3 separate regions of the Homo sapiens genome follow, and regions 1 and 2 are each linked to region 3. Evidence: promoter capture Hi-C in 16 types of primary human blood cells and fetal thymus (Javierre and others, 2016). All regions are on one chromosome and are shown on one strand. The core of a region is centred on a gene start or on the middle of the fragment in contact, and the rest is flanking DNA. Distances in the headings are between cores, read along the strand shown. Region 1 overlaps ZNF892 (zinc finger protein 892). Region 2 overlaps MRPS5 (mitochondrial ribosomal protein S5). Region 3 holds the start of ZNF2 (zinc finger protein 2).

Evidence for each region. The method cuts DNA at HindIII sites, captures the fragments that hold promoters and counts their contacts. A CHiCAGO score of 5 or more calls a contact.
Region 1: a fragment that was not itself captured here is called in contact with the fragment with the promoter of ZNF2 in region 3 in 15 of 17 cell types (naive B cells, total CD8 T cells, total B cells and 12 more); the score reaches 17.3 in naive B cells.
Region 2: a fragment that was not itself captured here is called in contact with the fragment with the promoter of ZNF2 in region 3 in 2 of 17 cell types (total CD8 T cells and naive B cells); the score reaches 5.9 in total CD8 T cells.

The regions. Positions count from the first base shown.
Region 1 is chr2:95,210,794-95,215,095 of GRCh38, reverse strand. ZNF892 (zinc finger protein 892) reads right to left here. Exons shown (of 5, transcript NM_001395961.1): 3 at 3,376-3,478; 4 at 2,814-2,903; 5 at 1-760. Among named protein-coding and RNA genes, the nearest start is that of ZNF892, 5.4 kb to the right of the region's middle. The HindIII fragment of the contact is 690 bases long and covers 1,676-2,365 here.
Region 2 is chr2:95,100,534-95,104,865 of GRCh38, reverse strand. It overlaps MRPS5 (mitochondrial ribosomal protein S5), which reads left to right. Exons shown (of 12, transcript NM_031902.5): 7 at 136-226; 8 at 3,143-3,189; 9 at 3,972-4,029; 10 at 4,330-4,332. Among named protein-coding and RNA genes, the nearest start is that of MRPS5, 19 kb to the left of the region's middle. The HindIII fragment of the contact is 4,684 bases long and covers 372-4,332 here.
Region 3 is chr2:95,163,261-95,167,374 of GRCh38, reverse strand. It overlaps ZNF2 (zinc finger protein 2), which reads right to left and starts at 1,566. Exons shown (of 5, transcript NM_021088.4): 1 at 1,515-1,566. RefSeq lists enhancers at 1,450-1,879, 1,307-1,941, 1,942-2,578. The HindIII fragment of the contact is 3,796 bases long and covers 197-3,992 here.

The sequences.
Region 1 (4,302 bases), core at 771-3,270, 47 kb before region 3:
ATGACCTGATGCTGGGTAAGGAATGTGCTTTGGCTGAAGGCCTTCCCACATTCATTACACTCATAAGGTTTCTCTCCAGTATGAATTCGCTGATGTTGAGTGAGGTATGAACTCTGATTAAAGGCCTTCCCGCATTCATTGCATTCATAGGGTTTTTCTCCAGTATGAATTATATGATGCCGAATAAGGGCTGAGCGGTGACTGAAGGCTTTCCCACACTCATGACATTCATAGGGTTTCTCCCCAGTATGAATTCTCTGGTGCAGAGTAAGGTGTATGCTCTGGCTAAAGGCTTTACCACATTCGTTACATTCATAGGGTTTTTCTCCTGTGTGAATTCTCTGATGCAAGACAAAAGCTGAGTAGTAACTGAAGGCTTTCTCGCATTCATTGCATTTCCAAGGTTTCTTTCCTGCACAAATTCTCTCATGCCTAATTATATCTGAATTTTGTTTTAAGTTATTTTTAAATGAATCACAATGATGTAGTCTCTCTCCTTGCTGCTGAACAAGTAAGGACCTCTGAGTGCAATTTCTTCTAAATTCATCAGATTGGTAGCTTCTCTCCCTAGAAGATTTCTCAGTGACAGCCTCTTGTATTAAATGTTTCTCATGGTTTTCCTGCTGACTCTCTAAAGAATCCTCACATTCACTAGAACTTTCCTTTGAAAATCTTACAATTAACACCCCAGGAGCCGATTCTTCTTCAGAAATATCCTTCTCTGGAGTTAGCTCCTTGCTTTCTGGTATTGTTTCCCAGTCTGAAATAAGCAAAAACACACATGTGTATCATTTCCTACACTGAGAGAAAAATAACTGCTGTGGTAGGAAATTAATGAAACATGTTTGTTTCATTCTTTGTTAGGAATATTTACAGGGAACACATGAACTTGAAAGCTCTCAAAAATAGTCTTGCAATCTTGAGAGAACACAAGAAAAAAAAGATGACTGGACAAAGAAGTACGACGGCATAAAAGGAGTGTGTGTGCAGGTACTCAACATTCCTCTATGCAGCAGGATAGGAAATAACAAAAAATAACAGAATGAGACTAAGAAGAGGTGATATGGAGAAATAGCAGATTTTTTTAAAAAAGGATCTAGAGGAGATAGATCCTTTAGAGGAGATAGGATCAGAGAAAGATGGTCTTCCAAAGACTCACTGTACCCATCTGACCAGAGCCTTATCATTTCATGCCTCAAGAATGACCATCTTTAGCTAATCTCCTTGCCACCAATCTTTTCCTACTCCAATATGTCCCAACCACTGCTAAAAGACTAATTGCTCAAAACCATCTCCCTTTCACAAAAATCTGTTGGTTCTACTGTCTCAAGATAAGACACAAATTCTAGAAGCTAGCATTCAACATAGTCCAGGTCTACAAACTCAAATGACCACAAAGCTTATTAATTGGAAAGCAACTAATCACCTCTGATTGCTTACCATCACCCTAGACCCAGCAAACTGGAAAGAGTAAAACAGAACCAAGAAGAAAGAAAAAAGAGAGAAAGGAAAGAAAGAGAAAAACAGCAGTGTGTTGGGAGGGGAAGGTCAAAACTCCATGTGTTCAGATGAGTCCCCAACCTCTCAAGATATCTACCCCAAGTTCCTGGGCTTCCTAGTAAGAATTTGAGGGGGAAAAGCTTCATTGCTAAAAATGTTTAAATACTTCCAAGCTTAAATGGTCTTTAACACCCATTCCAATCATGTCTCTACATGAAATAAATTAATACAATACAGTGTTCTCAACTAGATATATTCAGGGAAGTGCCTGGGATTTTAAAGGACAAATAGGTAGAATAGGTTAAAAGCAAATGGACATCCAGCTAAGGGGAGTGGAAAAAATTAAAGCCCCAAATGTTCATGAACACACAGTTAGTGGAGGATAGTGAGGGACTTGCCTATCTGATGTTAAGAGTTCAAGTTGAAGAACAGAGAAGGCAAAAAAGTTAGGCAGACTAACAACGGCTTTGAAAGCAGGTAGAGGAATACAGAGCTGGCAGAGTAAGCAACTCAATGGGGAATCTAGCAGTATTATGCTGCCTCAATTTTACAAGGGTAAGAGTAAAAGAAAGTATAATTAGCCAACAGTCTTTTGCAGTAATCCAGTTTGACAGAAGTAACAGGGTCAAATCCATAACATCTTTCAAAAAAGTTACTAGGACTTAATAGCTATCTTTGCTTAGCATATAGCCAGGTACTGTTTAAAACATTTCTCTTGGATTATTTCCTTTGATCACCACCAAAACAGTATAAGCTCTGTGCTATCATTATCCCCATTTTAATTTAAGTCACAGAGAACACAAGTCATTTGTTAAAGGTCACAAAGCTAATGAGTAGCTAAGATCAGCTTTAAACCAAGGAAGCTTAGTTCCAAAGTCTGCAGTCTTAACCATCATGCTATGCTGCCTCTGCTTAGACAGAGAAGGTGGCAAGGGAAAACCCAGAGATGAATTTACAGTCATTGATCTGAGACTCAAAAAAATGGCATCCAGCAAAGATAAAATAACACATGTAAAAAATCCTGCTTTAGAGCCTTGAACCCAAGCAAGTTATTAACAAACATTAAAATGTTGGTTTCATTTTACCTTATTTGGGAAAAAGAATTGGTTTGAAAGAGTAGAAAGTATTTACTTTCTAAAAAATCAAATTATAACTTTATAAACAGATAACCATCCACAGAGCTAGGATGTGGCATAGGGGTGAGACAGGGACTTCAACTTTTCCATGGGTCTAGCAAAATCTGGACAGGCTCCTCCTCCACAAGCATTTGCATTGACAATCTGGGTTTTACTTGCACTGTTTCCAACACTCACGCTTTTGACTGGCTGCCTTTGAGACTTCTCTCTCCAGCTCTTCCTCATGCTCCAACTGAGAGATTACATCAGGTGTGGAAATTGGAAGCCCTATTCATAGGGAAAGAAAAAGGAGTCTGGTGAAGACCTCAGTGTTCATTCCCTGGTCTTTAGGAACATGGTAAGAGAGGGAGAGAGTGAGGTCAGTTCTCCATTTCTTCCTCAACAGTGTTCACGAGGTAGGAAGATTGATAGGGGTTTGAGTCCCTTATCAATTTTACCTCCCCCTATTTAAAGAATAAGCATCCATTCTCTTAAGAGTTGTTTTCATTAGCACTTTGTCTCCACATCCTTGGTCAAGGAGTTGAGAAGAAGGATGCTACAAGTCCATAAAATAAAGGTGTTTATGTCTAATTCCAGGAGTGTTAAAACTATATCCAGAAACAAAAGGCAGAAATTGCCTGTCTCAGGCCCTACTAGAATTAAGAATCATTGAATATAAGGACCTTGGAGCTCCTAGGAACTGAGGAGGACAAGGTACCACACTGGGTAAATTCACAGGCATTGGGGGAGCCATCCTTACCCAGCAAGACCAGATTCCTAGGCTTCTCAGGCACATCTCCCTGAGGAGAGTTCAGCTGCCTCCACTGGGTGAGAGCCTCGGCCATATCCCTGATCATCAATTCCTGAAAAACCAAACACATTGGTGCTCACCAATGAGCCTCCTTACAGAGGCCTCTGAAGAGGAATAAAACTGACAGCACAGGAGGAGGAAGACAGAAAGGATAAAAAAAGGACAGACAACATGGCCTTGGCCACCCTTTCCAGTACTAAGATTCTCTGGTGAATATGTAGTCCACAGACTCACTCTCTGCCTCCAGGCAGCAGAAATGCATATTACCTGCAAGTAGGAAGGAAAGCACCTTCAATGTAAAACTTGAACGTATGAACTTTTTAGTTTATGTATCAATAAATTACAGAACTACAGAATTTGCTACTACTTATACAGGAAAAAGGAGAGAAAAATGTAATTATGAATTAAGTATTTTCCTTATGGTATAGTTTTTAAAACATATGGGGTTCAAGAAATTGAAGTATTTTTTCTCTAGTTTTCCTAAGAATGAAATCAGTCCCATATATATTAAAAATTAAGATGTTTCCTACACGTCACAGAATATAGACTTATTTGTAAAACAGTATCTGAAGCCCAAATGATTATGAAAGTTCCCAGAGTGTTCTTGTCATTTTTCACAACGACCCTGATCAATCTGCCCGCGTCCCCCAGTTGGTGGCATTCTTTCATCTGCTTGAAGTGTGTGTCCTATTCCCGTTAGCCCCTTTACACATCCTGCTTCCTATTCCTGAATATTCTGCCCTCTGCCCCATCCTTTCAGCAATGTGAATCCTTCTCTCCCTTCAGATCTCAGCTCAGGTGTTACTTCAAGGGAAGCCTTCCCTGACTCTCTAGTTAGAACACATGTTCCTTCCATTCCCTTGGGTTGCACACATA
Region 2 (4,332 bases), core at 1,464-3,963, 64 kb after region 3:
GGAGTTGGAGGATGGTGTGCCTGTTCTCTGTGTGTGCCTGTTCACCGTGTATGCCTGCAAGGAAGGCGGCTCCCTCCAGTTCCCTCCTTCAGATTTTCTTAATGTGCAATATTTATGAGACATTTTGCCTTTTAGGTAAGAAACGTTTTCACTATGACTGCGAAAGAGGGAAGAAAGAAATCGATCCGTGTCTTGGTGGCTGTGGGGAACGGAAAAGGAGCTGCAGGTGAATGGGGAGTGATGGCATCACAGTGGCGGTGGTGTGCAGGGAAAGGCGTGGCACGGGCCATGCTGTGGAGCCCATGGGCTCATGCTGCTGGCCGGACTTTTTCCATTGATTAAACCTTTTAGTGGTTTGGGTTCACAAAGCTTGTGGTAAGTCCATGACTTCCCTTAGAGAGAAAAGAGAGAATAGATTCTACTGTACTTGCCTTTTCCTCTGAGGAAAAGGAATATTATAAAAGGCTGAAGACATTATTTTATTATGTATAATAGTGGAAAATTAGGGAGAAAAACTAAATGTTCAATAGGGCCATGGTTATAAAAACAGTGTAGCCATACACTGTAATATTCTGTATCCATTAAAGAATTATGGGAAATTAGTTTTAAAATAATGCTAAGTTAAAAAAAAAAACACAAAAACGTTATATAAGACCATATAAAATCCTAGTTTTGTTTTTTTCTTTTTTAAAAGTATATTTATGTGCCAAGAAAAGACTGGAAAACTGTACACTGTAAAGGTTAATAGTGTTTACTCCAATTAGTAGGTTTGCTGATGATTTAAATTTTCTCCTATGTATAGTTAACATAGTGGACACCTGTTTTTGAAATGTATTCATGTCTGTTGAAGGAAAAGAACACAGGAAAATGGCCTAGTTAGCCCATACTGACATTTAACAAAAGTAATACATATATATATAGTATGTGGCCAAAGGAAACCAGGCCTAACAGCTACTTTTGTAATTTTCCTAAATTTTATGTTCATATTATTATCATACATCTTTAAAAAATTTACATAAAGGGATCACATTATAGCCATAATTTTGCACCTTGATTTTCTGACATAGTATTATATTCAGAGATATTAATACTCAGATTAACATAAACATTCTCCTTGATTCGTTGTACTGGTTGCAAAGTGTTCCATTGTGCATGGATAATTTTTGTAACCTTTTCCCTACTGCTGAATATTTAAGTTGTTTCCAAATTTTTACTAATTATAAAAAACTGTACAGTTCGTTTATGTGTAATTTGTTTTACTTCTGCAAGTATATCAATAGGGGAAACTTCTTGCAGTAAAATTGCTGCCCCAAGGTTATATGTATTTTAAGTGCTGATAAATATTCCTAGATTGCCTCCCCACAAAAGGTTGCATCAATGTCTGTGTTTCTCTACACCATCTCACCCTTGCCAACTTCGGGTTTCATCAGACCTTACTGATTGTCAGTATGATCTGTGAAACAAATCTCTCAGTTTTGATTTGCATTTTTTAAATTATGAGAGCTTGAACACCATTTTACATGTTTATTGGCTGTTGTTATTTCCTTTTTGAGATCTGTTCGTTATATGCTTTGCCCGTTTTTCTGTTGGGTGGTTATTATTTTTCTTATTGAATGGTATAAGCTCTTTGTAAGTTAAGGACATTAGCCCTTAGTCAGATATTTTGACTTAGGTTTTAATTTTTTTCCACACAGAAGTTTTAAGCTCTGTGGCAAATTTATCAGTCTTATATCACTACAGGGTTATAAATATTAGTTATCACTTCGGGTTTGTGTCTTGCTTAGAAAGCCTCATTTGAAGATTGTAAATGTTAGTAAGTTTCCCCATATTTTCCTCTAGGACTTCCATGGTTTAATTTGTTTTGTTTAAACTAGGAATTGGCATTCACATCCTCTTTTGTCCCAGGTCTCAGAGGTCCCTTGTATCTTATAGAGCAGTATTGTTTTATGTTATTTTCCCATGTATAATTTAAAAACAAAATACGTTGTTCAAAACAAAATACAGTGGCAGCAGATAATGGCAGTATCTCTGTAACTGCTGGTAAACTGTATTTCATAGTGAAGTGTTCATAAACTAAAGAGTCATTGATTTGGTTTCCTGGCTAATTAAAATCTGAATTCCATTTGAAGTTCCATTGAAATCATGGTTTTACTCTATAGCAGTGGATGTTTTTTCCCAACCTTTCTGATATTTTTTTCCTTCCTGAGACAGGGTCTTGCTCTGTCACCTGGGATGGAGTGTAGTTGCACCATCAAGGCTTACTGCAGTCTCAACTCTCTGAGCTCAAGTGATCCTGCCACCTCAGCCTCTTGAGTAGCAAGGATTACAGGCACCTACCACTATGCCTGGCTAATTTTTATATTTTTTGTAGAGATGGATTCTCACTATGTTGCCCGGGCTCATCTTGAACTCGAGCTCAAGCAATCTGTCCATCTTGGCCTCCCAAAGTGCTGGGATTATAGGCGTGAGCCACTGCACCTGGCCCCTTTCTGATTATTTTAATCTATCTTTAAATGTTCAAAGTGATTTGCCTAATTCATTTAAAGCATATTTAGTTTTTTTTAAATTGAGTGTATTTTATCTAGATATTTTTAAAAGGCAGCATCTAACCTTGGATTTTATAAATACATCTAAATTTGTTATTTCCAGAATGCTTCAAAACAGATCTCTGTAGCCTCGTGCTTTGTTATTGTTAGGTTTTTTTTTTTTGTTTTGAGACAGGGTCTTGCTCTATCTGGAGTGCAGTGGCACAGTCATAGCTCACTGTACCCTCAAACTCCTAAACTCAAGTAATCCTCCCATCTCAGCCTCCTGAGTAGTTGGGACCACAGTCATGCACCAGCATGCCTGGCTAATTTTTTAAATTTTGTTCTTAATAGAGACAGAGTCTTGCTGTGTTGTTCAGGCTGGTCTCAAACTCCTGGGCTCAAGCGATCCTCCCACCTCAGCCTCCTAAAGTGCTGAGATTACGGATGTGAATCATTACACCCAGCCTATTAATGGTTTTGTATAGCAAGTCTTTTGTGGGTGGTGGAAAGATGAAGTGCTGTGAAATATTGTAGGAGCAGAAACTTGAAATGTGGCAAAAACCACATGGGCAAAATTTCTGTCTCTTTTCTTATTTTTGCTTTTTTGTTTAAAGGTTTTTCTATTGGGAAAGCTACTGATCGGATGGATGCTTTCAGGAAAGTATGTACATTTTTTTTCTTTGTTGACACTCAGTAAAAGATTAGTAAGTTATATGCCAGACACAGTGGGAACCACAAAACAATAATAATTTGTCCCAGAACCTTCCCATGAGGCTTGCTGTCAAGGGTTAATTAGCTCATAAAAATCAGTTTCAGAAGTACTTATATTCCTTTGCACCATTTTTTATCAGATTTGTAATTGTCTAGCCAAGTTATGAGACAATTGTGGAAGTTTGAACACTGACAGAATGTTTGAAGATACTAAGGAATTGTTACTTTTTTTTTTTTTTTTTGAGACGTTGTCTCACTCTTGTCACCCAGGCTGGAGTGCAGTGGCACGATCTCGGCTCACTGCAACCTCCGCCTCCTGAATTCAAGTGATTCTCCTGCCTCCGCCTCCCAAGTAGCTGGGATTACAGGTGCCCACCACCACACCCGGCTAACTTTTGTATTTTTGGTAGAGATGTGGTTTCTCCATGTTGGTCAGACTGGTCTCGAACTCCTGATCTCAAGTGATTGGCCTGCCTCGGCCTCCCAAAGTGCTGGGATTGTAGATGTGAGCCACCATGCCTAGCCAGGAATTATTGTTAATTTTTTTAGGGGTGATAGTGATATTGTAGTTAAGAGTTTTAAAAAATAAGTCCTTATATTTTAGAAGTATATACTAACCTTTTTGCGTAAGTGAATTTTTGATAATGAAACATTTTTATTAAAAGTGTTTTTGGAATCCTTGAAAAGATGTAAATTTCAACAATAGAGTTAAGAAAAACATTTTCCTTTCAGGCAAAGAACAGAGCAGTTCACCATTTGCATTATATAGAACGATATGAAGACCATACAAGTGAGTGATAATCTATTTTTTTTTTTTTAATTTGCAGGATTACATTTGTTAAAGTCTGTGTGACAATGTATCTCTATAGGTATCTTTGTGTTTCTCTCTTATTACATTCTTACAAATATATGAAGTGTGAAAACAAATCTCCTAAGAAGGTTACTAAAATGAATGAAATCAGAGCTTACCATTTATCTTTGGTCAATATGTGCTGGCTGTTGAGGCTAGTATACATTGCTTTGTGATATTTGCAAAGGCTTATTAAAGCCACACACCTAATCCTCTTGTGTTTATGTTTTTACCCTCCAGTAT
Region 3 (4,114 bases), core at 317-2,816:
GCCACCACGCCCGGCTAATTTTTTGTATTTTTTTAGTAGAGACGGGGTTTCACCGTGTTAGCCAGGATGGTCTCGATCTCCTGACCTCGTGATCCGCCCGCCTCAGACTCCCAAAGTGCTGGGACTTACAGGCGTGAGCCACTGTGCCCGGCCATATTATCTATTTCTCTGTAGCTTTTCACTGTTCGGACAAGCTTCTGCTTATTCAAGTGGTTACTGTAACTGCTATGATACTGCACTAGCTTTTCTTCCAACCACTAAAATTGCTGTCTTTCTGTGACTCTTTTTCCCCACTTTTGCCCTGGAAACATGGATGCTGCCCATAGCTCAGTCTTTGTACTTTCTTCGTTTTTGCCATCCCTCAGAAAGTCCATCCACATTCAGGGCTCCATTTTCAAACTCTACAGATGTCCATGTCCTGTAATTGTATTGTAATTTTACAATACAACTGTATTGCATTCTTCCAGACTCATCCTGCATTTCCAAATGACTGCAAACCTTAAATCAGGCGTTCCACCATCACCTCAAAACTATCTTCCTTTAGGCAATTCCACACATCAACGCCTCTTCCTGGCTTTACATTTGTATCAGATGTTTTATTGTTCTCCCAGGTGTCCCAAATTCAAACTCTTACCTCACTCTCTTTCCTCCCAAATCTAGTCACCAGGCCCTTTTGACTCTTCTTTTGCAGTGTCATCTGTATCCTTCCCTTTCACTACCACCACCATAATTCAAGTCCACAACATCTTACTCCAAAACTACCATACATTCCTAAGTAGCTCTCTGCTACTGGTCCTTTCCCCTCTCTAGTCCTGAATGTGACCTCTAGAATAACTGTCTCCAAATAGTTTCATTCGTGTCAGTCCCTGGATCACACCTATATAAGCCACCTTGCCTACTGAGTCTTGTCCTGATTCTCTGAGTCCCGGGCCCTGGCTCCCAGCGTACCTTTTCTTCAACCTTGTCTACCACTGTTCCTGCATTTCTGTAAAAACTATCTCCAGCTCAAATCTGCCTAACGCTTAGCTGCTTCTTTCGTGGTTTTTGTTTTGTTGTTGTTGTTTTTCTTTCACGTCAAATCCCACCTCCTCCATGAAGCCCTCCAGCACTCGTGCGGAGGCCCAGGGCAGGGAGCTAAATGAGGCAATCTGAGGCGCTGTCTGGCAAAGACGGAGCGGCAGCATCCTAGATTTGGTGTCAATTCCACCCACGTTCATTAAGCACCCATTATGGGAAGAAGAAACGGGAGAGGCGGAGGAAGACTCCAAACCTCCAACCTTAAAGTCCGGGACCGACATACAATGGGTGCCCAGACCCCACGGGACACACGCACACACGGGGGTGGATGCACAACTTTCCGTCCGCACCGAGACGTCGCGACACACGCTCTGCAGGCTGGCCTCGCCCGTGTCACCCCGTTTTGCTCCCACAGCACCTCCCCAAAGTTCTCATGTCCCCTCTCTCGGCTGCTGCGCTCACTCCGCTCCTTGAAGACACACACCCACAACCCTCACCTCCGGCACAGAGTGCTCGGGACCCGGGAAGACGGCGCCTCTTCAGGTCGGGAAACCAACGCGCCTGCGCACAGGGTCCTGGCGACTGCGCTCCCAATCAATGCGGGGCCTTCGCAAGGACTTCATCTCCCAGAAGTCTCGGCGTCCGGTGCGCTTTAATATGACGTCCGAAAATGTGTGCAAACGCCGGCTTCCCGTGGCTGAACAGGATCCAAAATGGCAGCGCTGTCGCCTTAGCTGGGAGAGCGAGCCGTTGTGGCTGTTTGGGAGACTTATGGTCACCCTGAAGTACTGCCTGCCTCTAGTGTCGCGTCCCTCCAGTATCCGATGGGAGCGCCGTCCGCAGGGAATGTGTCTCTCTGATCATGGTGCCTCGTGTCCAGCTCTGGGGAAGACCGAGACGAAATCGAGTCAGCTGGCGTTGGGAGAGGGCTTATTTCCGCTTCCGCTTGCCCACTTTCAGGAATTTGATTCTGAGAGCAGGGCTGCGGTTCCAGGCAGGGTTTGTACACATATTTGCGTTGGAAGGAGAGAGGAGCCTAGGACACATATGTATTAACTGTGCAGCTGGTCCGACTCCCGACAGCTTCAGCGCACACCAGCCAGCCTTGGAGTTGCTGGAACGGCCCTGGCTGCAAGCTGGAATCACCCGGAGAGCTTTCGACATTGATGCCTGAGGCCCAGCTGTGGAGCGACAGTTTGAAAAGAGCTGCAGGTGACTCTAATGTGCAGCTAAAGCTAGGAACCACTGAGCTACATCTCAGGGAAGACTGAAAATTACAAAGAATATGATAAAATCTTACTTCAGGAACAAAGCTACGTTTTTCCAGGTTAATTTATTAGTGGTTTGGGTTTTTTTTAAGTTTTTGTGGGTACACAGTAGGTGTGAACATTTATGGGCCACCTGAGATATTTTGACACAGGCATGCAATAAGTAATAATCTCATCAGGACAAATGGGATATCCATCACCTCAAGCATTTGTCCTTTGTGTTACAAACGATCCAGTTATATTCTTTTAGTTACTTTAAAATATACAATATTATTGGCTGTAATTACTCTGATGTGCTATCAAATACTAGTTATACTATTTCTTATTCTATTTTTTGTACCCATTAACTATCCCCACTTCCCCACCCCGCCAACCCTTCCCAGTCTGTTAACCATCCTTCTACTCTCCATCTCCATAAGACTACACTTTCATTCAAAAAATCCAAATTGCTCACCATAAGCAAGGCACAGTTACAAATATGAGTAAGTTACTGCCCCAAATGAACTCTTGGTCCAATGGAAAAAATCAGAATGTAAAATCACAATAGAGGCAGTATGTTCTATAATTATGTCACATTCAACATACTATGAGAGTACAATGGAGGAAGCTATTAACTATGGCCGGGAAAGGTGGGAAAGGATTCCTTTCACTGGTATACTTAAATACTTAAGAAAAAAAAAGTGTGATCTAAACAGTGAATAGTACATGCAAAGGCATAGTCTAGAGGATAAAAGTGAAAATAATTAGTAGCAAAATGAATGCCTTGTGGATGAGGTTTAGGGGCCAATAACTATCTTGAGGTAAGGCCAGGTTGTGGCTGCCTTTGTGTTGTACTAAGGGGTTTGGACCTTCCTAGGAGATTAGAGCTTGATTAAAGTCACAACATCCATAAGAGAAATACTTTTTTTTTTTTGTTCCCTTCTGTGTGGTGGTTTTTATTATTTAGCCTTATACTGAGGGTGGAAACTGGGGTCCTGAAAGTGTTTCCTTCTAGAATATTCCCCACCCACTGGCAGGCCCTAGGCTTTGTCTTTACCGCTTCCAGGTAGCTGCCAAAGTGGAAGTTTATGTGCTCTAGGATTTAGCAGTCTAAAAGTCAGGTTTGTTGCTCGATTCTCAGAATTCTAGCTCTCACTTTATTTATTTTTTGAGACAGGCTCTGGCTGTGTCAGCCAGGCCAGAATGCAGTGGCATGCTCTCAGCTCACTGCAACCTCCACCTCCTGGGCTCACGTAGTCCTCCCATCTCAGCCTCAAGAGTAGCTGGGACTACAGGCATGCACCACCATGTCTGGCTACTTTTTGTATTTTTTTGTAGACATGGGGTTTTACCATGTTGCCCAGGCTGGTTTCAAACTCGGGCTCAAGCAATCCACCCTCTTCGGCCTCCCAGAGTGCTAGGATTATAGGCATGAGCCACTGCACCTGGCCCATTTCACTTTATTTTTTTAAATGTTTACAAATTCCTCACTTTCATGCCTGCTCATCAGTGTGTTTATAAAGATGTTTGCAATTTTTCAGCATTTTTAGTTTTTTTATTAAGAGGGCTGTTTAGGCCATCTAATCGGCCATGTTACTGGGAAGATTAAGAGAATTTTAACTGATATTCTCAAAAGAGTTAGGAGGAGCATATGGAAGCTAAGCAGCCAAGAAGTGACATACATCCATCTTTTTAGAGTAAAACAGGTATCTCTTGGGCCCAGAAGCTTGTAGGCTCTGCCAAATTGCAGGATGTTATGGCCGTCTGATGCTGTTTAACCACTCCAAACTTAGTGGCTGAAAACAACAATTTTATTAGGCCAACATGTTCTGTGGGTCGGGAACTTGGAT